Linked DNA regions of Homo sapiens: regions 1, 2, 3, 4, 6 and 7 are each linked to region 5. The links are contacts of gene promoters, found by promoter capture Hi-C in blood cells and fetal thymus (Javierre and others, 2016). All regions are on one chromosome and are shown on one strand. The core of a region is centred on a gene start or on the middle of the fragment in contact, and the rest is flanking DNA. Distances in the headings are between cores, read along the strand shown.

What was found. The method cuts DNA at HindIII sites, captures the fragments that hold promoters and counts their contacts. A CHiCAGO score of 5 or more calls a contact.
Region 1: a fragment that was not itself captured here is called in contact with the fragment with the promoter of INPP4B in region 5 in 7 of 17 cell types (naive CD8 T cells, non-activated CD4 T cells, naive CD4 T cells and 4 more); the score reaches 20.4 in naive CD8 T cells.
Region 2: a contact is called between a fragment that was not itself captured here and the fragment with the promoter of INPP4B in region 5, in 10 of 17 cell types (total CD4 T cells, naive CD4 T cells, non-activated CD4 T cells and 7 more). The highest score is 37.8, in total CD4 T cells.
Region 3: a contact is called between a fragment that was not itself captured here and the fragment with the promoter of INPP4B in region 5, in 7 of 17 cell types (naive CD4 T cells, naive CD8 T cells, total CD8 T cells and 4 more). The highest score is 14.1, in naive CD4 T cells.
Region 4: a fragment that was not itself captured here is called in contact with the fragment with the promoter of INPP4B in region 5 in 4 of 17 cell types (monocytes, M1 macrophages, M0 macrophages and 1 more); the score reaches 11.0 in monocytes.
Region 6: a contact is called between a fragment that was not itself captured here and the fragment with the promoter of INPP4B in region 5, in 1 of 17 cell types (M0 macrophages). The highest score is 5.6, in M0 macrophages.
Region 7: a contact is called between a fragment that was not itself captured here and the fragment with the promoter of INPP4B in region 5, in 2 of 17 cell types (monocytes and M2 macrophages). The highest score is 5.9, in monocytes.

Annotation. Positions count from the first base shown.
Region 1 is chr4:140,862,379-140,865,452 of GRCh38, reverse strand. RNF150 (ring finger protein 150) reads left to right here. Exons shown (of 7, transcript NM_020724.2): 7 at 1-3,074. Among named protein-coding and RNA genes, the nearest start is that of TBC1D9, 110 kb to the right of the region's middle. The HindIII fragment of the contact is 2,140 bases long and covers 456-2,595 here.
Region 2 is chr4:141,310,900-141,314,109 of GRCh38, reverse strand. No RefSeq gene overlaps it. Among named protein-coding and RNA genes, the nearest start is that of LINC02432, 20 kb to the left of the region's middle. The HindIII fragment of the contact is 404 bases long and covers 1,670-2,073 here.
Region 3 is chr4:141,290,353-141,293,433 of GRCh38, reverse strand. No RefSeq gene overlaps it. Among named protein-coding and RNA genes, the nearest start is that of LINC02432, 41 kb to the left of the region's middle. The HindIII fragment of the contact is 1,728 bases long and covers 705-2,432 here.
Region 4 is chr4:141,145,141-141,148,317 of GRCh38, reverse strand. It overlaps a transcript of RNF150 not described here. Among named protein-coding and RNA genes, the nearest start is that of RNF150, 13 kb to the right of the region's middle. The HindIII fragment of the contact is 1,703 bases long and covers 603-2,305 here.
Region 5 is chr4:142,844,477-142,847,913 of GRCh38, reverse strand. INPP4B (inositol polyphosphate-4-phosphatase type II B) reads left to right here and starts at 1,613. Exons shown (of 26, transcript NM_001101669.3): 1 at 1,613-1,705. All of the region lies in intron 3 of USP38-DT (USP38 divergent transcript), which reads left to right. RefSeq lists an enhancer at 270-856. The HindIII fragment of the contact is 4,051 bases long and covers 1-3,437 here.
Region 6 is chr4:141,170,914-141,173,937 of GRCh38, reverse strand. It overlaps a transcript of RNF150 not described here. Among named protein-coding and RNA genes, the nearest start is that of RNF150, 39 kb to the right of the region's middle. The HindIII fragment of the contact is 422 bases long and covers 1,222-1,643 here.
Region 7 is chr4:141,127,635-141,130,836 of GRCh38, reverse strand. The region is part of intron 1 of RNF150 (ring finger protein 150); the gene reads left to right. Among named protein-coding and RNA genes, the nearest start is that of RNF150, 4.2 kb to the left of the region's middle. The HindIII fragment of the contact is 1,615 bases long and covers 718-2,332 here.

The DNA.
Region 1 (3,074 bases), core at 276-2,775, 2.0 Mb after region 5:
GAGACCTGGTAGTCTACAGATGAGTGTCAGAGGGTGTGTGTACCCTCTAGAAGCAAATGCAGACTGTATGTGTATTTGCAGATGTGCATTTTTCTATAGCAAGAGTCTAGACTAGCACTGTCCAACAGAAACGTAATGCAAGTCACAGACATAATTTTAAATTTTCTACTAGCCACATTTTAAAGTGTAAAAAGAAACAGGTAAAGATAATTTTAATCATGTACTTTAACCTAATATTGTTTCAACATGTCACTAATGTAAATTAATGACATGTTTTACATGCTTTTGTGTACTAAGTCTTCTAAATCCATTGTGTCTTTTACACTCACAGCACCTCTCAATTTGGATAGTCACATGTGGCTAGTGGCTGCCAATTGGACAATGCAGGTCTAGAGTTCCTCCAGTATTCTCACAAGATCCCCCGACCCTTACAAAAGAAAAGAAGGTTAAAAGCTTAATTACCTCCAGGGAGAACTGGACACCACCCAAGTCGCCTAATGAGAGGCCCAGAGGTCCATTTATTTTGTAGTGAATAAAGATTCAGGCACCCTTTTTAAAATTTCTGCTTGAACTTTCTAACCATATCATTGATGTCCATGACCATTTGTTGTTACTCCTCTGACCAGTTGTTACTTAAAACTCACACAAACCATGCTGATTTGGTGCTGAAACAAAATTATACCCCTCACTTCTATGGCAAACCCTCGGACTGATATGTGGCACTTAGGAGCCAAAGAGAACTCCAGACTGAAATCACCCAACTTTACCTCAACCCCTTCTTCTTGTTCATGGTTGGTGAAAGTCCTTTCCCAGTGTCCCCCAGTCCCACAGCTGTAGTGAAAACTCACGAACTTGGGAGGAAAGAATGAGAAATGCAAGACTTTATGTGGCCTTCTTGAAAAAGAATCTTTGGGGGCCTGTGATCATCCGGTCTCTACTTGGTGAATTATGACCACCTCCAACAGCCAGCATTTTACTCCAAGTCAGCATCCACCTGCCACCCCAATGCTATGGGGAAGAAAAGGAGCATTTGCATTCACTCAAAATAATTTAGGGTCACCTTTAGGAACTGCTACCTCCTATGTGGCTAGTCCCTTTGGAAGAGCTGAGCCCTGACTATGAATACAGCTTTTGAACATTGACTTAATCTCTAGGGTTAGATATCCCCTGCAGTGTCAACTCTGGTCATCTACACAGGGAGAGGTAGAGTCTGGAGAAGGCAGAAAATTAAAAGCGGCAAAGGTACCTACCCATTTTTGACATCACATGGTAATGATCAGAATCATGGAGGCAAAGCTCTGTCCAAAAATGTTCATTTTGTTTTGTTTTGTTTTGTTTTCTTGTTTTTAACATTTCCTTCATCCTGGTGAAATATCCTGGAAATTCATAGATCTGGGTTTGGTCATTTCAAAGCTCACCATGCCCAGTGGCCATTTCAGTTACTGCCCTGACATCCCTGAGGCTACCATACTCTCAAAACCAAATCAATGCCAGTGATCTAACATAGGATTCTTTCTTATTTATGAGTTTTGTTTAGATGGATATTTTTGCAGAGCATAAAAAATTAAATGACATTTAGTTATCCATTGAATGTATCACCCTGACTTAAAAAAAAATCCTTAAATCAAAACTTTTCAAAAAATCTGGGCTATGGAGTCACTCCCTCTGTGGAGCGAGAGCCCAGTCTTTTCTGGTACTAAGGCCACAGAGGCAATTTCCAGTAGCATTTTTATATCTTCTCTAAGTTTCTTTTCCTTTTCTGTCTGTATCTGTTTTTCTCTGACTGCCTATATCTTACTTTGTATACCCATACATAAATTATTTTCCCATCTTCTCTCTTCCCCTTTTTTTCTGATTTGTTTTCTCTCTTGCAAGAAACTCTGAAATAACCTTCAGAACACAAAAAACTGGAGGTTCTATACCTACAGAGTCATTATCATTATTGTGATTACCATTGTTACTGTTGTTGGTGTTTTTCCTCTTTTTATTGTGTAGCAATATCCATATTCACTTCTGATGAGGCAAACCTGTTTACTATAAACCAATGTCCTCCCTAAAGGAGTCAGTTTCATTTTCACTTCTCACATCACCAGTTGTATCGCAACCCATCTTACAACCATTGCCATGTTTTCAGGCTTCCTTGCCATAAATGTTTTCTGGGCAAATAATGGCAAAGCAACAATTCCAGAATGCTGTCTAGATCTGCTTTCTCCCACCCTCAGCATTTGACCCTCCTCATTCGCCTGAGCCCCCAGGGTTAGGATTTCTTGGAAAAACTTGTATACTGTACCTGATGGAATGCCCATTCTTCCTAACTACTTAGCACAAGTGCTTGCTCATCGTAAGTGATCTGAGGGCCACTAATTCCTGAAGACTGACAAAGAGACACGAAGAGACTACCCTCTTAAGATGGGGATGCATGGTTCTTCATGCAGTGCTCTTGGCCACCGAGGTCCTTCATCCATGCCATTGCATGGATGAATACGTTTGATGTTGGCAGTTAAAATGGGATGGGAGTGTCACCCTGCAGGAAGTAAGAAAAGAGGATGGCAGGATCTCTGATCAGGGAGCTGGTCAAAGCAGGGCTGGAAAGCTTCTGTGCTTAACAAAATGTGCGTGCTGTCCCCAAGTAAATGCTCATCCCTAGGTTTAGAGCTGACCTGGGTTTTGGGGAGTTTGTATTTTTAAGGAATTAAATACTCATGAGTTAAAATACTCATGATTGCAAAGAAGGTCTGGATTGCCTGAAAAATAAATTAATTCTAAGAAGCTAATATGAGTTTCTCATCATCCCTTAGCTCTTCCTTTTCCCTCCTTTTGTCCTCACTCAACCCCAGACCCTGTGTAATAGGAACATTAATTTTTAAAGACCCACAGATCAATAGCCACACTCTTCCACTCTACACCTTTTATTGACACCAAGTTATCATCCCAGAACTAATGAAGCAAGTCCAGATGCTAGACGTGGCCCCTTAATATCGAGCAATTTGATTGCAATCCTGCTTGTTCTACAAGAACCTGCTAAGGTCAGTCACATCTCTCTTCACCTGCCTTGAGTGCTTCATAATCACGTG
Region 2 (3,210 bases), core at 622-3,121, 1.5 Mb after region 5:
GCCCATATCTGAATAAGGGCATGAAGGGGGCAGGGATGAATGGAGAGGATACCTCAAGGAGAAGCATTCCAGGCAGAGGAAAGAGCAAGGATAGAGACCGGGGCAGAAGCTCACCTGGTGGGAATCTTCTAGTGGAAATGTGTGTTCCTATTCTATAAACAGCAGAGGCCAATGCAGCTACAGCAGAGCCAGGGAGGCATAGAATCAGTATATGATCTTAGAGAGTTGGGATGGAGGAAGTAGGAGAGAGAACAGTTCAGTCCCTGTGAACCACTGGAGGATTTTAGAAAAAAAGAGTAGGGACATTATGTGAATTACATTTAACAGGATCTTTCTGGCTGCAGCCGACTGTGAGAGGACCAAGGGTGAAAGCAAAAAGATCAACTGGGAGACTCCTGAAATAATCTTGACAATGCCTGAGGGTGGCTTAGACCAAAGTAGAAGCAGTGAAGATAACTGAAAGTTGTTGAATTGTGGACAGATTTCAAAGGTAAAATGGATAAGATTTGCTAACATGTTAAATGTAGTACGAGTGAAAGAGAGAATTCAAAGATGACTCTAAGATTTTTTTGCCTGAACAACTGGGAGAATGGAATTCCCAGGGAATGAGATGGAAAAAACTTGAGGTTTGGGGTAACATTGAGTTTAATTTTGGACATAATAAGTTTGAAATGTCTATTAGCCATCTGTGAAGAAATATCAAATACACCGCTATATATACAAACCTGTGATTCTGGGAATAGTTCCATCCTGAGGGTATACATTTGGGAGTCAGCTATATGGAGGTGGCATGAAATTCTTGAGATCAGAAGAGATTATCCAGGGAGTGAGCACAGATAGAGAAAGGAGAGGCCACAGGTCTATGTCCCACTTTTCCAGCAGAACACGGTGCAGTGTTAAACCATTGCCACACCTCGCCAATGAAACTAGACCACACTTACCCAACAGCCCAATTATTTGGAAAATTCTTGAAATACAGAAAGGAGTAGAGCAGCCCCAGGAGCTGTTAAGGTGTCTCAAAATTTATTCACTGTAACTCCCAGGAAAGTTCCATGGGACATCACCCAGGGCTGGCTGCAGCCTCTCAGAAGCACATGCAATGACAGCAGCTAAATGCGACTGACAAAAGTAAATCAGACACAGCTTAAATAACCGTGAAGCCTAAAGTTTGGACTCCCTGGTGCTTAGCCCATTTCTCTTTCTGATAAATAACTCTACCACCTAATTATTGAGGTAGCAAATAGTTGTAGCCCCATCTGGGCTAGCCTGAACTGTGGGTCTGTTAGTGCTCCTTAAAACTACTATTTTGTTCAGGGTGTATTTAGGAGGACTGAGCACTCAGTGGGGAAAGTTGCTAGAGGCAATACTCAGCTTCTCCTCAACTACCCAAACAAATCTGCGCCAGCACCAAGCTCACACACTGGTTCAGGACCACCAGCACTCTGCAGGAAACCCTCTTCCCCAAAGATGGTTCAGTGACCACTTAATGTTATTTCAGCATGACCCTTACATATGATGACCATGTGATTAAGTATCCAACCTGGGATACTTTCTAGTGTCAAAGGGGGTGCTATTACAACAGGTATCAACTGGGACTGTGTAGGCAGGAAAGGATTCGTAGTCCTAGCAATTCACACCCTCACTTACTCCACTCCCATTCCAGGAAGCTTATGAAGGAACTTCTTCCAAAAACATAAAATACTGCCTGAGATGACTTCTGGTAAAAACAACTTTGTCTGAGACCATTTTCAGAAATAGTTTAGCATGTCTTACAGATGTGAGGTCCTGTACAAGTTACTGACCACCCATTCTTTCATCTATCTCTGCCTATCTTTTATGGAGCACCTGTTCTGTCCCAGGAACAAGGGACACAGATTTATACAAGGGAATCAGTATTGGTTAAGTTCATATTTAAGTATGTTAACTCACTTAATTCTCACAAAACCAGTGAGAAGTTAACCCTGCTTGACCAGTGAATTCATGAATGCTCAGGGAGGTTATGGAACATGGCTAAAGTCACACAGCTAGCGGGTGGCAGCAGCAGGATTTTATTTCATCACTGGCTGCTAAGCTTGTTCCTCTTTCCTTGTACTACACTGAGGGGAAAGATGGTGAAAGACTCATGAAGGACATGAAAGGAGCTCATGAAAGATGATGAAAGACTCTTGAAAGACAGGAGTCCATGTCCCACAAGATGGCTCAGGCTTTGGCACAGTGTTTCTTGCCACTTTGGGAGGCTGAGGCAGAAAAACTGCTTGAGGCCAAGAGTTCGAGACCAGCCTGGGCAGCAAAGCAAGAACCATCTCTACAAAAAGGAAAATCTTACTTTAAAAAAATATGGTTGAGTCCACGTGAGAGACTACAGTACTTCCTCTTTCCTATTTCCATAACAAATCATTTCAACATACAATCAGATTAAGAAAACTGCTGTGAAAATTCACCATGTGACCCCTTCCCCACCACCCCACTAAAAATACAGGAAACCCTCCCAGTGCCTCCTAAATATTCATGGAGGAATCTTTCAGATGGCACCATAGGCAGTTTGATCTGCAAAGACAAAGTCACTAATATCACCTTTTAACAGCCAGTAGTTTCTTCCCTAATTAAGAATGTACTCTCCCCACCACCAGATTTCTTCTTAGTCTAAGGTTTCATCATCAGCCAGCATTTGCCAGTGCTGCCCTAAGGCGGCTGGCCATCAGAGCCACGTGGGAGCATCACTCCTCAGGCTTCACTGCCAGAAAGGCTGGCACCAGAGTTCTGGGATTGGACTAGGGAATCAGTATTTTTAACAGGTCCCCAAAGTGATTCTGATGCAGTCAGACCACAAATATTTGGCTTTTGGAAATTAATAAGTACCATTAGAGAGAAAGTTTGTATGAAAAAAAAAAATACATCACAAGTGCGGTTCTTGCTACTTCTGCCAAACTGCCATTTTCTCCAAGGTACTTCTTTCTGGTAATGGAGGAAGAGAGCTAAATCCAATTAAAACTCTCTGTGATGCTACTGAAGCTCAGTGTGATGGTTAATTTATGTATCAACTTGCCTGGGCTGAGGGATGTCCAGGTGGCTGGTAAGATATTATTTCCAGGTTTGTCCGTGAGAATGTTTCTAGAAGAGATTAGCATGTGAATCAGTAGACTGCATAGATTCCCTCACCAATGCAGGTGAGCATCATTCAATCTCTTGGGGGTCTGAATAAAAATGTGC
Region 3 (3,081 bases), core at 319-2,818, 1.6 Mb after region 5:
AGAGAGAGAATTTCAAGGAAGTGTCCACATCAAAACAAAAACTGCTTCATTCACTGCATTTTTTCAAGAACAGGGATTTCTAGAGTAGAGACAATGTCAAATCTTCAGTCATTATTTATCAAAATTGGACACACATAATATTTACTAATGTTTATTGGGTTTTTTTTGTTTGTTTGTTTGTTTTTGAGACGGAGTCTCGCTGTCGCCCAGGCTGGAGTGCAATGGCGCGATCTCGGCTCACTGCAAGCTCCACCTCCCGGGTTCACGCCATTCTCCTGTCTCAGCCTCCCGAGTAGCTGGGACTACAGGCGCCCGCCACTATGCCCGGCTAAATTTTTTGTATTTTTAATAGAGGCGGGGTTTCACCGTGTTAGCCATGATGGTCTCGATCTCCTGACCTCGTGATCCGCCCGTTTAGGCCTCCCAAAGTGCTGGGATTACAGGCGTGAGCCACTGCGCCCGGCCGGTTTTCAATTTTTATAGCAGCTACAAAGTCCTTTTCTGCTGTGCAGTTGGGATCCCATTCACTCCTTCTATGGTGTACTGTGTTCACCCATAAAATCAAACAAATGGAAAAATGTCCTCCTTATGCTTCAAAAAATTATCTTTTTGGAGCCAGGACAAGTAGATTAGAACCCAGACATTATGTCCAGTGCATTTCATCTGAGATGGCGCAAGTGAAAAAGGGGAAAGGTGCCAAAGCTTCACAGTGCTTAGAAAAAAAAAGAGAGTTAATTACCAAAAGGCAGTGCAGTCAAAAACATGTGTGGAAGGCAAAACAGAGTGACTGCCTGTTAAAGTACAACGTAATTAGAAACAAAAGTGGTATGCATGGATATCTGTCAGAACTGGTTGGTTTATGCTGTAGTAACAAAAAACACCACCATAATATCAGAGATTTAGTGCAAAAAAACTGTTGTTTCTCAGTCACCCAAAGTCCTTCATACCCCCTGAAAATGTCTGTCCTGAAGGTATGGGCTCTGCTTCGATTAGCTGCATTGATTACATGGCACTATCCTTGTAATAGTGCTCCCGAGGTCACCACAGCAAAGGAGTGTGCTGGGCAGTCTCATGTGGATAGTAAGTACTTCCGCACCAAAGCATTGTTTGTCACTTCTACTCACATTTTGTTGGCTAAATTGAGTCACGGTATCACGTCAATCTTCAAGAAAGAGTGGAAATACAATCCCTTTCCCACCAATATCCCCCAACACTGTGTGCCTAAAAAGAGTAAAACCTGAAACACTGGAGAGCAACCCAAACATCTTCCACACCATGGAAAACCAAATGAATCAAAATTTCCTTCTAGATGTCAAGCTACATATTCCCCAACCTACACTGACTTTGTCCTAATCATTTCTTTACAAATAAACTTATGTGGAATTATGGAATATAAATTCTCATGGAAATATGGATGGAGCAGTTAAGTAAATTAATATTAGTGGAATTAATCATTACATAAAAGATGGTTAAGAGTATTTTATCCTTAATGTCAAAGCAGATAAAACAAATAAGAGATATTTATTTTGAACAAATTTTGATAGGTAAAATTATACTCGTTTATTAAAGTGAACTAAAGAATGACTACATTGATAATCAGACCACTGCAGCCACTGCCAACACCAGCACAGACCACTTGGAAGCCAATATATTATCTTGCCAGTGCCACAGCCATTGACCGCACCATGCCTGCTGCCCAGGGGCCCAAAAACCCGCCCACCCACCTGGCTCACTGCGGCCATTGCCAGCACATGAGCAAGCTGCCTGGAGACCTAAGAATTGGCCTCCCCAGACCTGCTAATACCAATGCCAGTATATGTCACTCTGGGGCCCAGTTCACCACTCAGTACAACTTCAGTCCACAACTGCCACATCCCCATCCCCAGAAAAACTTCAAAACAGCCTCCACTAAAAACTTCACTCTAAGCTACCGAGGAAGTCATGGACACTACCGAAGCTGTCTGTGGGTTAAAAAATTATACAAAGACTACACTACTGCATGCCCCCAGAATTAAGGCCAAAGTGCCCTATCCAAAACATCATAGATATATCTTAAGGAAAAAGTCCTCCCCTATGAAAGCAAATTCAAAAACCTGGAAAAATTGACTTTACAACAGATGTGCAGATATCAACTTAAGGACACACAAAAAAATTAATAAGCAAAGAAATATGACATTTCCAAAGGAACACAATAATTTTCCAGCAACAGATTCCAATTTTTAAAATTATGAAATCCTGAATGAAGAATTAAAAATAAGTATATTAAAGAAGTTCAATGACATACAAAACAATTTAGATAAACAATACAAAGAAATCAGAAAAAATAATTCAGGATACAATTGAGAAATTTACCAAAATAATAGATGCCATTAAAAAAAGAAATCTGAGAACTAATTAATTCACTAAATAAATGCAAAATATATTTGAAAGCTTCAGCAATAGACTGGATTACACAGAAGGAAGAATTTTAGAACTTGAAGACAAGTCTTTGGAAATAACCCAGACACAAATAAAGAAAAATGAATAAAAAGAATGAACAAAGTCTGCATGACATATGATACACAATAAAGTGATGAAATATTTGAATTATCAGTGTTCCAGGAGGCAAAGAAAAAATGAAAGAGATAGACACCTATTTAATTAAACAATATCTGAAAACTTTCCAAATCTAGCAAGAGATGTAGACATCCAGGTACAGGAAGCTCATAAATCTCCAAACAGATACAATTCAAAAATGTCTTCTCCATAGCACATTATAGTCAAATTGTTATAAGTCAAAGACAAAGAAAGAATTCTAAAAACAAGAAAAAAAGCATCTAGTCACATTTAAGGGAACTCCAATCAGACAAGCAGTATATTTTTCATCAGAAACCTTACAAGCCAGAGAAAATTGGATGATGTATTCTAAGTGCTAAAAGAAAAAACTGCCAGCAGCAATGTCCTTCATAAATGAAAGAGAAATAAAATATTTTCCAGACGAACAAAAGCTAAGGTAATTCACAACCACTAGATTGGCCCTATAAGAAATGCTGAAGGGAGTTCTACATGTGAAAGCAAAAGGACAATATCTACCATAATGAA
Region 4 (3,177 bases), core at 205-2,704, 1.7 Mb after region 5:
GGGAAGCATAGTTTATATTCTAGGTCCAGGGTAACAGACCACTGATGATCTGAACTAACTTTGCTCATGCTCAATCTATAAGAGGAAGCCATCATCCTATATATTATTTTATTTTACAAAGATTTTCAAAAAATACATCCTGTATTTGACAAAGTTATTGAGATAGTATTTCAAAAGAAACACAAGTAGAGAGTCTCAAAGTTGTATTAAGACTAATTTTATTAGTAATTTAAATAATCTTTTGTTAATAATTTTAATAAGCCAATTATTATAATATATCCTAAAATTAAGGAAAGACACAAGAAAATATTTTAAGGATGTTACCAACCAATATATGGTTTTAAAGAATAAAGGATGACATGAATTGGTTTAAAAGTTTTTATTCAACTCCTGGGAGAAAACTTATTCTCTACGCCTCATATTTCTGAGTAGATGATTTTCCTAGAGTAGCACTTTTGGATTTTTTCTTCCTCCTTCAGTGATGAGATTGGAAGAAAAAATTAGTAATGTTCAATCAGCCTTTTCCCCTCCCCTCTGAAATCTGCCTGCCCACAGAGAGGGTGCATTCTGAGTTTCTCTCTCTCTCAGCTATGCTCTAAGCTTAGTGAGGCAGAGTCTACCCTTGTAGGAATGAGCTGTTACTGTTGAGGGATTAGTCTGCCTAAGTTTGGGAGGAAATATTTGCAAGCCCACTTGGCTAAGATCCAGTTATTTTGGCCAAGACTGCTATGTTTTCACCAAAATCCATTCCCTCTGCCTTGTGTACATAGAGATACACTAAATTTGCAACTTTCCCAACCTGCTTTACAGTTAGGTTAGGCCATGTGACTGGGTTCTAGGCAATGGAATATTAACTTATGTACACTTCTTCCAAATCTGCCACATGAAAACCTCCTGTGTAATCTTTCACGCTCTCTCTTTCCCAGTTATTAACTGATGTAGAAACTTCAGCATCAGACTTTGAAGCTCTAGGGATGGAGCCACATTATGGAAGGTCCATTGAATGGCCATGCTGAAGGCCACCTGCCAAGCAGGAACATCCTTACTGGACTACATATGAACAATAAATTAACTTTTGTTCAGTCCCTGAAATTTTAGAGTTGGTTTGTTGACAAACCAGTATTACTTATCATAACAAACACAGTCACCAGGCTGGGCAACATAGTGAGATCCTGTCTCTGTGAATAATACAATGATTAGCCGAGTGTGGTGACATACACCTGTAGGCCCAGCTACTCGGGATGCTGAGGTGGGAGGAGCGATTGAGCACGGGAGGTTGCAGTGGCCATAATCGCATCACTGCACTTCAGCCTGGGTGACAGAGCAAGACACTGTCTCATAAACAAAAACAAAAGCAAAACACAGTCACATTCTCTAAAGAGCTTTTATCAGTAATAAAGCTAATATATTGCTGCCATCTGTTTGAGTCCTATCTCTCAACTTGCTCTAATCTTGAGAGTGGAAAGAAGGTATTGTTGATTGATTCCTTAAACCTCCAGCAGATTGTATACTTCTCTTAGTGGAGATAACAAAGTTGCCTTGAGTGGGATGTAGGACCTACAAGATGGGTCCAGCAAGGTCATTTGGTGGGCTTCATATCTGAGAGTGTTCCAAAGTTTGGCTAATATTCAATGGCAACTTGGCAAAGGGATGAGAGTACAGTAACCTCATCACAAACCTTAACTTTCTTTTTTTTAAACTCTTCAATTATGGCTTCCCCAAGTTTTTCTGAGACATATTGCTGATAATTACAGCAGTTGTTGCATATTACTCTTAAATATTCCCAGGAGGCAGTCCATTTTCATAAATAAGAAGATGGCCCAACCTATGCTTTAAGAATAGTTGGCTCATGTTATGGGATCATACTCATATGCTGATTGTCTTTTCCCAAAGAATGCAATTAAAGTTATTTGCATGACGTAGTGAATGTTTCTTAAATTCAGCAAACAATAATTCTCTTGTGAATATTCTTACTGGAAGATAGGATAAAAAACGTTGAAGAAGGTTTCAATCTGTAAAAGGAATGTTTCTCCTGCAGACATTTTTCCTCCCTAGGAAAACAGGGTCAAAGGCTCTATTATTTGGATCTGCAATGTGACATGAATTTTAAAACCACTTTAGCTTAGTCAATAGAACCGATCCTATTTCTGATTTATTAAACATGTATCCATCCCAAAGTAACAGAATGTAGCAGATCTCATTGTTGGTTAGATCACATTTTCTCTTCCCAAGTCCCGGAAATATTTAACCAGTCAAGTTAAATTCTTCCTTGTAATGTAACAGGCAAAGGGACCAATGAGAAGCTTGCTATGTAGCAATGAACAGTAGGTGGAAGGCAGTGGGACACTGAACATGCTTGACTCCAGACACACACTGAGGCAGCCGTGTTTGATGCTATATCTGTCCTGACACAATGATACCCTGAGACACAACCTGACTCCTCAAAATCTGCACAAGATATAAAAGTGGGGAACCTGAACCATAGTAGAACTTGAACATTGGATCTTCCATAAGATATAGTCATCCAAGTAGGCCCTGACCCATGAGAGACTTCTGTCCTGGGTAAAGAGATGGGCTGGGCAATTGATACAATTCCTTTTTGGTTTATACATCCAAAAATGAGATTTTCTTTTTCTTTTCATGGCACCTCATTTCAAAGATTTTTCAGTTTAATGTAGCCATGCCAAGTAAGGCAAGAGAAACAGGCTGTAAATCATTGGTGAGCCTACAGAACTTATTCCATGCTAAATGGTCAGCTATACTATTCACATGAATACACACATGTGCATATACAAGTCCCTACACCTACATACTCACTCTGTTAACTGGAAATGATCTATGTATATTCAGTTATAGAGCCTGTTGAGATCCTTCTACAAAAATTTATCTTTATAATAGGTTATTTCTTTATTCCAGCATCATATTAAGCTAGCCTTCATAATATTCCACAGTTTGCTTATTTTTATTCATCTTAATGTTATGTTAAGTAAAAATATTTCTAACTCAATTTGTATTTATTTCTTCATAGGTCAATGTTCATTTTCTTTGACACTTTGAAGACATTTTGTAACTATTTAAATTCTACACCATCTTATTTGCCATTAAAAAACTTATGTAACACACTTAAGTTCAGGAAATTATTTAGCCAATTATAAACACTGACTAGTTTGGGAATTG
Region 5 (3,437 bases), core at 364-2,863:
TTAGGTATTGTCCCAAGCTCTGGGAGCAGAGTGATGAAAAAAATAAATGAAACGAACAAACAACTCCCCCCACCAAACAAAACAAAACAAAACAAAACAAAACAAACCCAAAGTCCCTGTCCTCATTGGCAAGGCTTATAATGTGGTGGTCAAAGGTTTGAGGAGTGAAAGGATGCCTAGATGCGGGCAGTGACAGCAGGGGTGACAGCTGGGGGTACATACAGCTTCCTGGTTTGTGAAACTGTTAAGCCCCGACTTAACCCAAATTGATTTCACTGTCCTGACTTTGAGATTCCAGTCTTTTTGCATGGCAAATGTAACACTTGTGTACAAGCATTCGTACACTGCTTTACTTAAAATGTGATTTTAAAGCGCCCTCAGGGAGAAGGGCTGGGGTGTCTTGATGGGCTGGCTCTGGGCACCTTTACCTTTGAACGGCTCCATCAAAACCTTTCCGAGAGAGCCGCCAGGTGGCACCTGTAAAGCGCAGATGGGGAGAGTCATTTGCCCCACACCCTACACAGCCCGGAATAACCAGGGTGCGTGCTTTCCCCTGTGGGCTTGTTAGGGGCTAGGAAGTGGGGGAGTTTTAGTCTCCGTCCAGACTGCTTGCTTACATACCCCGTTTTCCTGATACCCCAACACATTCAGGGCGGATTTGTCCCCACGCACCCGGGATATCAAAGGCATGTCATACGCTAGTTGGGAGCATCTCGGCCTCAGTCACCCGCCGCGACGTGGGAACTGGCGGTGGGTGGCCGAGGGCTGCTCTAAGCTGGTCTCCTCAGCCCGACCTCTGCCCGGGGCAAGGGGGAGGAGGGGCAAGAGACAGGGGTCCCAGCGCGGCTGCAGACTGGGGTCCAGCAGGCGTGAATGGATGCCTAGACGCAGGCAGTGACAGCAGGGATCCCAAGCCCCTTCCAAAAACCCTCGGTCTAGGGACTGCGCTGCCATAGGCCGGGGTCTGGGGCGCTTTCTTCCTCCCGCGGGTTCTTTCTCTGTGGTTTCTCCTGCCCCCGCAGCAGCGTGGCGGCCTCGGGTCCCCCCTCGTCGCGGTAGCGGTGATCCCACAGCCCAGTCTGGGTGGGCGACCCAGCGGGCAGAGGGGCCGCAGAAAGGGGTCGGGGTACGGGGTGTGAGCACACGGAGCCAGCGTGGTAATTTCGGGGTGGGCAGCCGGGCCACCATCTCCGCTCTATCAGTAGCGGGAAGCGAGCAGCGCCAGTTGCGCGACTGTCGCTGCCACGGCCGCCTCTACTCGGTCGCTGGTGACATTGGGAGGAGACCGCTTGGAGAGAGCAGAGGAGGAGGAAGAGGAGCGGGGAGGGTGGGGGTTGGGGTGGAAGAAAGTAGCAATTGTGCCAGGGGGCGTGTGAGCAGCCGGAGAGCCAGCCGCGCTGGTGACAACTTCTCTGGGGCGCGCGCGGGGCTGGTAGGCGAGGAGCGAGCAGGGAGCGCGGCCGAAGCCAGAGGCTGGGGGAGCTGCTGGAGCCTCGCGAAGCCGCGGCCGGCGCCCTGCGCCGTCGCCGCCGCCTGCTAGTTTCCTCCGGGTTCTCAGCCCCGGGTACTGAGGCTTCGGTCTATAAATAGCAGGTTACAGCTCCTCCTGGGCGCGCACACGCTCACACGCTCGCAAGCGAACGCAGGAAAGTCAGGCTAAAAGTGTCTGCTGCTGCTGCCGCCCCCCACTCCGCCTCCGGGAGAGGTAATTACCCGCCTGGGATCCTAGGGCTCGGTGGGGGAATTTTGCAGGGTGGGGTGGTTGATGGTGGGTAATCCGGGAGGCGAGGGAGCGTGTCTGAGAGCGTGGCGGCACGTCTTGGAGGGGGGAGCCTGTCTGTTTTGCATCAAGTTTCTCCGTCTTGCAGCCTCCATCACCCCTCCAGCTCTTTAGCTTAAAGGGTGGGGTGGGCTGTCTCTCCTCGGCTGCTGGGGTACCCCTGTCACCGCGCCTACCCTCTCGCCGAGCGCCCCTCTGCCCGGCGCGCGCGCGTTTTCGCATTCTCACTCACACACGCACACTCTCCGGGCCCCCGTGGAACTCTGAGCTCTGGCCTCGCTGACCTTCCAAGGCTGCGCCCACCTGCGCTGTCCCTGAGAGACGCTGAGGTTGGCCCGGGCACTCGCTCTCACTTCCAATCCTGATGATCGCAAGCTGCCGCCGCCGCCGCCGCCGCCGCCGCCGGCCTGGGAAGAAGTCCTTAAGGAATAGAGGCAGTGGTGGGGAGTGAGGGTGACTGATGTTGGTGGTCCCGGTTGCCTTGTTTTTTGTTTTAAAAATAAAGAGCCCATCTCCTTGACCACCTTCATCCCACCCTCAACAACTCATTCTGGCAGAGAAGCCTGGCATGTCTTCTCTCGGCCATCAGGCAGCATCTCTTGTCCTTCCCCAAAGAGGTCTCGCTGAGAGGTTAGGGCCTTGGCGCAAGAGTGCCTGGGTTTGGACGGGGGAGGTCATTGTTTCGGGTCTGAGAACTATGCTGCAGGCTCCTCAAGCTCTCTGGCGCTCAGGCAGGGCCCAGGGCCGGGGAATGTCTGGGAGCCTGGTTCCTGAATGTAGTTTCAGGCTGGTAGCTGATATGAAGATGAGGATGCTAGAACCACATATACCTGTTTTTCCCCCTCCCCACGCTTCTGAATTCTCCCTTCCTTGGGGGCAGTAGTTTCTGCTCCTGGGGAGTCGGTGGAGAGGGGCCCAGCAGTTTCTCTTTGGGGACAAGAGGGTGAGGAAGCACATATTGATTAGGTTGTTGCTGCTGCTGCACAAAACTTACTGGAAAAACCCGGTAGGGTTTTCTATTACTCTTGTTTTAAGGATGTAAATTTACTCCTTTTCCTCTTTTATCTTCTCCCTAACCAGAACTAGTTTTCCTTTCTCTTTCTGGAATGTTATTTGAGGTCATTATATTTTATGACTCCAGATGTTACATTTTGCATATCTCCTTCCTGTCAGTATGACAGACAGAACTTGTTTATAAAGGTGTGGCTCTGTAAGTAAAAGCCTAAAGACAGAGGATAAATTCATCTTCTCTCTCTCAAGATGAGCTCCAGATAGTTCTTTTATAGGTGTACAACTACATTTCAAAGACCTTGCTTGAAAAAGGACTTTTCTTAATGAGTTCTGGACCAGAAATGGTAGTAATCTGACTCAATGATAAAGCAGCGCATAAGGTGCAAGGAATCATCAACAGGGCAGCTGGCTGATGATGTGTAAGAAGTTGAGTAAAGCAAGGACTGGGCAAGTGGGCATTGTCAGTTCACATACTATGCACAGAAATGCATCCTCTCCTTTACGCATTGATGCACATACATGCATTATGTGTTCCTTTGTGATATAATCCTGTAAAGCATTGATAGGAAATGATCAATAGTTTTGTGAAAGGTACATGGGCATTGAAGGTTGAACCTCGTGAATTTGTAGTAATGTAAAATGCTAT
Region 6 (3,024 bases), core at 183-2,682, 1.7 Mb after region 5:
GTCTAGGAAAATACACACCAAATTGATAACAACAGTTGCTTCTGAGAAGAAAAGTTGAATGAGACATAGAAGTTTTGAGGAAGAACTTTCACTTTTTACTTGAAATATTTCTAAATTGTTTAAATTTTTATACTGAAAATACATTTATTATTTGTGTTCATTTAAAATTGATAGAAATAAAGACACCTTGGAGTTCCAAGTAAAGGGCTTGTCCAAAGTGTAAAAACACTATTTAACCAACTGTAGGGCAGTTGGCTGGCTCTGCTCAATGTACTCAGTCTTCTCCTGGGGCCATGAGCTAGCTGGGACATTTGCTTCTTGTGATGCTGGCAGAGGTGCAAGAGGGCAAATTGAAACTTAGGCACTGGCAATAGAGCCAGAAGATCCTGACAGCCATTTACCAATTATGTCAACTTAGGTGAACTCCTTGATCTCACTGTTCCTCAATTTCATCTTCTGTCAAATGGACCAAAAAATCTCTACCTTTCAGCGTTGTTGTGGGGAATGTTTGAAATAATGTTAGTGAAGTACACAATGCTCATCTCTCTTTTACTTATGTCTGTTTTCTAACTTTTGCAACAAACATACAGTGTATGTATAATGAAAATAAATGCATAATCAAAACTTTATAAAAGACACCCACTATAAAGTGAGTATATAAGCTACTGTTCTGAATGTAACAGGTGATAATTGATCAAGGCATCAAGGATTAACTAATAATATAAGAGAAAGCCTTATAAATATGGCTGACTCACTACAGACAAAACACCTGATGTCTAATACAAATGAAATAGTCACTGGAATCCCTCAAGGCAATGGAGGTAGCGTCTCTCTTGAAAACCATGTCTTCAGTAGCACTTTGCTTTAAAGTAAGATTAATATCCTAGTTTTCTTTTTTTTTTTCTTTTTTTAAGACGGAGTTTCACTCTTGTTGCCCAGGCTGAAGTGCAATGCCGCGATCTTGGCTCACTGCACCCTCGGCCTCCCGGGTTCAAGCGATTCTCCTGCCTCAGGCTCCCTAGTAGCTGGGATCACAGGTGCCCACCACCATGCCCGGCTAATTTTTTGTATTTTTAGTAGAGATGGGGTTTCACTATGTTGGCCAGGCTGGTCTTGAACTCCTGACCTCAGGTGATCTGCCCACCTCGGCCTTCCAAAGTGCTGGGATTACAGGCATGAGCCACAGTGCCCGGCAATATCCTAGTTTTCATAAATTAAGCTTTTGAACCAAGTGTAATTAATGCTCAAGTGAGTGTTGTTATTTAAGGCCTAGAGAAAAAATCTCCAACTCTGGAAGTTCAGCTAGGTGACTTGGTATCATGGGCACACGGCTCACCAGCTGGTATGGGTACAGCTGAGTCATATCTCGTACAGGGTACAGGTTTTCAGGTCAACTGCTAAGTCCACGATATCTCAAAAATATTTTAAATCATTTATTAAGCATGGCAAATGTGTGTATAGGGAAGGGGGGTAACTTAGTAGATAAATTATTGATCCCAATTTTTCACCCCATCCACATTCATGCTCTTGCCAGAGTCTCGCTGTGAAGAGCGCACTGCCCTGCCTTTTGACTTTGGGTTTAGCTGTGCGCCTTCCTTTGGCTAATGACATGTAGAGAAAAGGGACTCTGGCAGTTCCAAGCTTAGGTGGTAAGAGATCTCATAAGTTCTGTTTGCCCTCTTGCACCTCTGCCAGCGTCCTGAGAAGCAAATGCCCCAGCTAGCTCACGGTCCCAGAAGACAGAGAAGTACACTGAGCAGAGCCACCGAGCTGCCCCACAGTCTAAAGCAGAGAAGCACCAGCTAACCAGCAAACTCATGAGGGAAAAATAAAACCCTATTGCTGTGTGCTGCTGAAATTTTGTGGTGCTTTTCTAGAGAGCATTATTGTGGCAATAGCTAATGAAAACATTGATCTTATGTATAGGTACAAATGTATATGATATGCGGTATTATAAAAGAGCATATAAAAGTATAAGTATTTTTAACTTACTCTAAGCATGACTAGACGCTCACATGAGAAGAAGCACCTAGGTATGACAGGCACGATGCTCACTGGTGACAAGTTCTTCAAGGGGGCTTTGGGATGTATCTGAAATCTGAAGAAAATCATTGGCTCCAAAATATGGGAAGGGAGGAACTTAACACCATTTAATTAAACATCTACAAAATAAAACCTATGTCAACTAGTCAAGCTCAATTCAGTTCAGTTGTGCTATATGTACATGCACATGTATCTATATACAAATTGTGTATAATTTGGGCTATGGATACATTGTAGTACATTCAATTGAAAGTGAAGTGGGAGCTCAAAAGTAGCATTCATCCCTGTGCCTAGAGAATGTCTTTAAGCATCCCTCAGAGGAAACTAAGACTAACTGAGGTAATGGATTCAGTTCCCCCATTCTGTGCTCACTCACTAGTAAGTAGTAAGAATCCCCACTTTCTCTCTCTCTCTCTCTCTCTCTCTCTCTCTCTTTCTGTCTGTCTCTCATAGATGCATCCACACATGGGTGTGTGCACACACACACGCAGAGAAAATGTGTTTTATATAACTTACAAATAAAGAGAATCCCCTATTGGGTCCGATACTCACATAGACCACCGTAAAGAAGGATAATCTCTCCCAAGAGGTGTGGCTGTTAGTGGAAAGTTCTCAGGGAAGCATGAGAAGATCTAGGGTCCAGTCCTGATTCTGCTACTGACTGGGAACATAGACCATGCAGTGTGGGCTGGCGAGGAAAGGTAAACTTTATTTTCTAAGCCTCCTTCTTTTACAAGTCATTCTTTACAACCCTATGTTGGAAGCTCTCCTTGCTTTCTAAACAGACTGTGTATATATTCATTATAACCTTAACATGACTGCATTGCAATTACAATTTTGCATTCTTCTCTAGTCCAGAAGTCTGTGATTTCCTTGGAGAAAGATTATCTCGTATTCCTCTTTGTGTTCTCAGCTTCTAGCACAGGCCTTGGATGTACTGTGCATTAATATGTGTTATGGACTAAAAATCAGCCTTGGAAC
Region 7 (3,202 bases), core at 276-2,775, 1.7 Mb after region 5:
GAAACTTTGATATTCAAGGATGTTAAGGACTATGGAAAGCACTGTAAGTCATGTAAAGCATCTTTAGATAAACATGTTACTTAATATTTAAAACCTCAGTGGAGGAGGGGTGAAGGAAGCTTTTTTGTTTTTGTTGTTCTTTAAACTCCAAGAAGATTGTTAGCTGACTTTGTGAGATTCTTTGTTTCTCTGTGCATATGCATGAAATCTTGAACTCAACTTCTTTGAACATAAAGTAAGAGGCATCATTTGTTCCTGTCTAAAAAGGTTCTCTAGAACTGCCAACACATTGGATCAATTAATGGCTTGCTTATTTTTAAAGAAAACACTAAGCAGATTTCCCACACAAATGATGCTTGATTAAGATAGTGGGAGTGGAAGTTTAGTAATACTGTAGTTTGAACGTTAAAGGAAAAAAAAAATTGGAAATTGTCTATTATCTAATTGTTCTGTTTCCAAAAATGTATTCATGCTGTATCTGCCAATGGCCAGGAAACTCCATATTATCTTCTGACATTTTGCCACATTAGGAGACTCTGTTCACTTCAGTCAGAGGCTAGCATTGATTTCTGCTAGAGTGTCATTATGAGCAGATACATGACAGGGTAGCATGGTAAACCCTTGACTATACTCTGAAATTCTTCTGCCTAAATCTCAAACACTGCCAGCTCTTGTCTGGCTGTCAGTGTCTTCCATGTAGTCCAGATCTTGAAAGCTTTACTTTTCCTAGTTAAATTTGAGGTCAGATTTCTGAATTCAGTTTGAGAAACTGCACATTTTAGATGCTAATCAAATATTTTTATTTTGTGAACTTGGGATACCATACCAGAAAATCTGCATATTTGTGAACTTTTAAATTCAGTTTTTAAAAAGTTTTAAAAACTGCAAAAGCTGATGATATATCTATCACCTTTCCTTAGATGCTTTATTTTTGGAACTGATAGATTTCAGGTGAGAAGGTCTGTATTTAGTGTTATGCAACCTGTCGTTTAACATCTATGCATTTGTGTATCTTGAAATTCAATTAAATAGAAATTGTTTTGTCCTTTTCATATACGTTTTCTGTTTTTTTCTTTTCCTGCTTAAATAATTTTGATTTTCTGCCACTTATGTAACTATAACTTCTCATTCAAAAAGACACCACTTCTCCTGGGATAGACCAGTAGTTTTGCTTTATAACAAGTCACTTTCCTCCCCAGTATAACAGCTTTACTGAAATATAAACATACTCTGCAGTTCACTCATTTAAAGTATGCATTTCAATGGCTTTTAGTGTATTGACTGAGTTGTGCAGCCATCATCACTATCTAGTTCTAATAAGAAACTCTTGTACTTCCCCAATATTCCCCAACTCCTAGTCACTCCCCATTATTCCCCAACTCCCAGCCCTAGGCTAATCTACATTCTGTCTTCATGTATTTAAATGCCTCTTTTGTACCTTTCATATAAATGGAATCATATAATATGTGGACTTCTGTGATTGGCCTCTTTGATTTAGCATAATCTTTCTAAGGTTCATCAAGGTTGTAGCATGCGTCAGTACTTAAACCCTTTTTATTGCCAAATAATATTTCGTTGTATGGATATATCACATTTTGTGTATTTATTCATCAACTGATGGAAAATTACGTTGTTTCTACCTTTTAATTGTTATGAAAAATAGTGCTATGAACATTCATGTACAAGTTTTTGTATGGACATTTCTCTTGATTATATACCTAGGAGTGGAACTTCTGAGTCATATGGCAACTCTATGATTTAATCTTTTGAGGACCTTCTAGACTGTTTTCCAAAACAACTGCATCATTTTGCATTCTCACCAGCAGTGTTTGAGGGTTCCAATTTCTCCACAGCCTCATCAACATTTGTTACTATCTTTTTTATTTTGCCCATTCAAGTGGATGTGAAGTGGCATCTTCATTTTGTTTTAAATTTTCATTTCCCTGATGACTAACTGTTACTTTTTAACATAGTCTTGTTTTTTTCTGCTATTCATTTTATTCCCTTTCACCTTACACCCACCATTATTTATTCTTTTCCAGACTTTCAACTCATACACTTTTATGCTAGGGAAGAGAGAGTGATTAATAGAGAGAATCTGCTTCTCTCACTTTTTTTTTAAGTCTATGGACCAGAGATTTATATGTCCCCTATTAAGGGACATAAGGCTGTATCTTTAGTGCAAGAGCACCAAGAAGGCCATAGCAAAAAGCTATAGAGAAATGCATCTTCCAAGTAGTAAAAGCCCCAGAAGTGAACTTTCAGTTATAGGCAAAGGCAGTGAGACTCAAATTACCTCCTCAAAGCTGGTCTGATGCCTGCCTGTGAAGCTTCTTTCGGTGTACCCTAAGGAAAATGATGATATCAGAAATTTCTAGAGGCAGTTTAGGGCACTAATTAAATAGGAGTGTAGCCTCTAGAGCCAACCACTTGGATTTGTGTCCTGGTGGCACTACTTTCTCACTGTGTATCTTTGTGCAAGTTAACCTCCCAGGTCTTGGGTTTCCTCCTTTGTGAAGTGGAGGATAACACCATACCTCGATTGCTTGTTATGTGAATTAGATGGATTAATGCATGTACAGTGTTTAAATCTGTAGCTGGCACAAAGCAGTCAAAAAATGTTAGCCCTTCTAAGCATTGGACCCAGTGACACACAACGACATGCAGGAGCTACACACTGGATCATCATACCTCTGAGGCTCACTGAGTTCCTGGCAGCCTTGGGAAAGAACTCCTTATTTACCCTTTCATACTGAAGAGGCCAGAGCAGTGGTGCCAATTTGTTTGTGGCTCAGCTAATTGAAACAGGGTGTTCCAGTTCCCTTTGATTGATGAACATTTAAGATTCTCCTATTGAGTTTGTACTTTCTTTTGGCTTAAATTGAAATCTCATCGTAGCAAGGGCATGTATGATAAACGTGGTAGTCTGTGTATGCAGGCTGTTTGTGACTGAGTTGTGATGTTGAGGAAATGGTATGTTTTATTTTTTTCTTTTTTAAAGAGTGTGTTTGATATCTTTCTGTTTGTCTATTGCTAGTACATAATCAACAGGAAATGAAACATCTAGCTGTCTAGGAAGAACTTTTGTGAGGCTAGGTCCCTAAGGGCAACTTGGAGATGGAGGAAGGGAAGAAATGGTTGCAGTAACTCTGGAGAACATGCTAGGCCCTTGGAAAGGAGGAGCCTAGGATGGAGTATATCT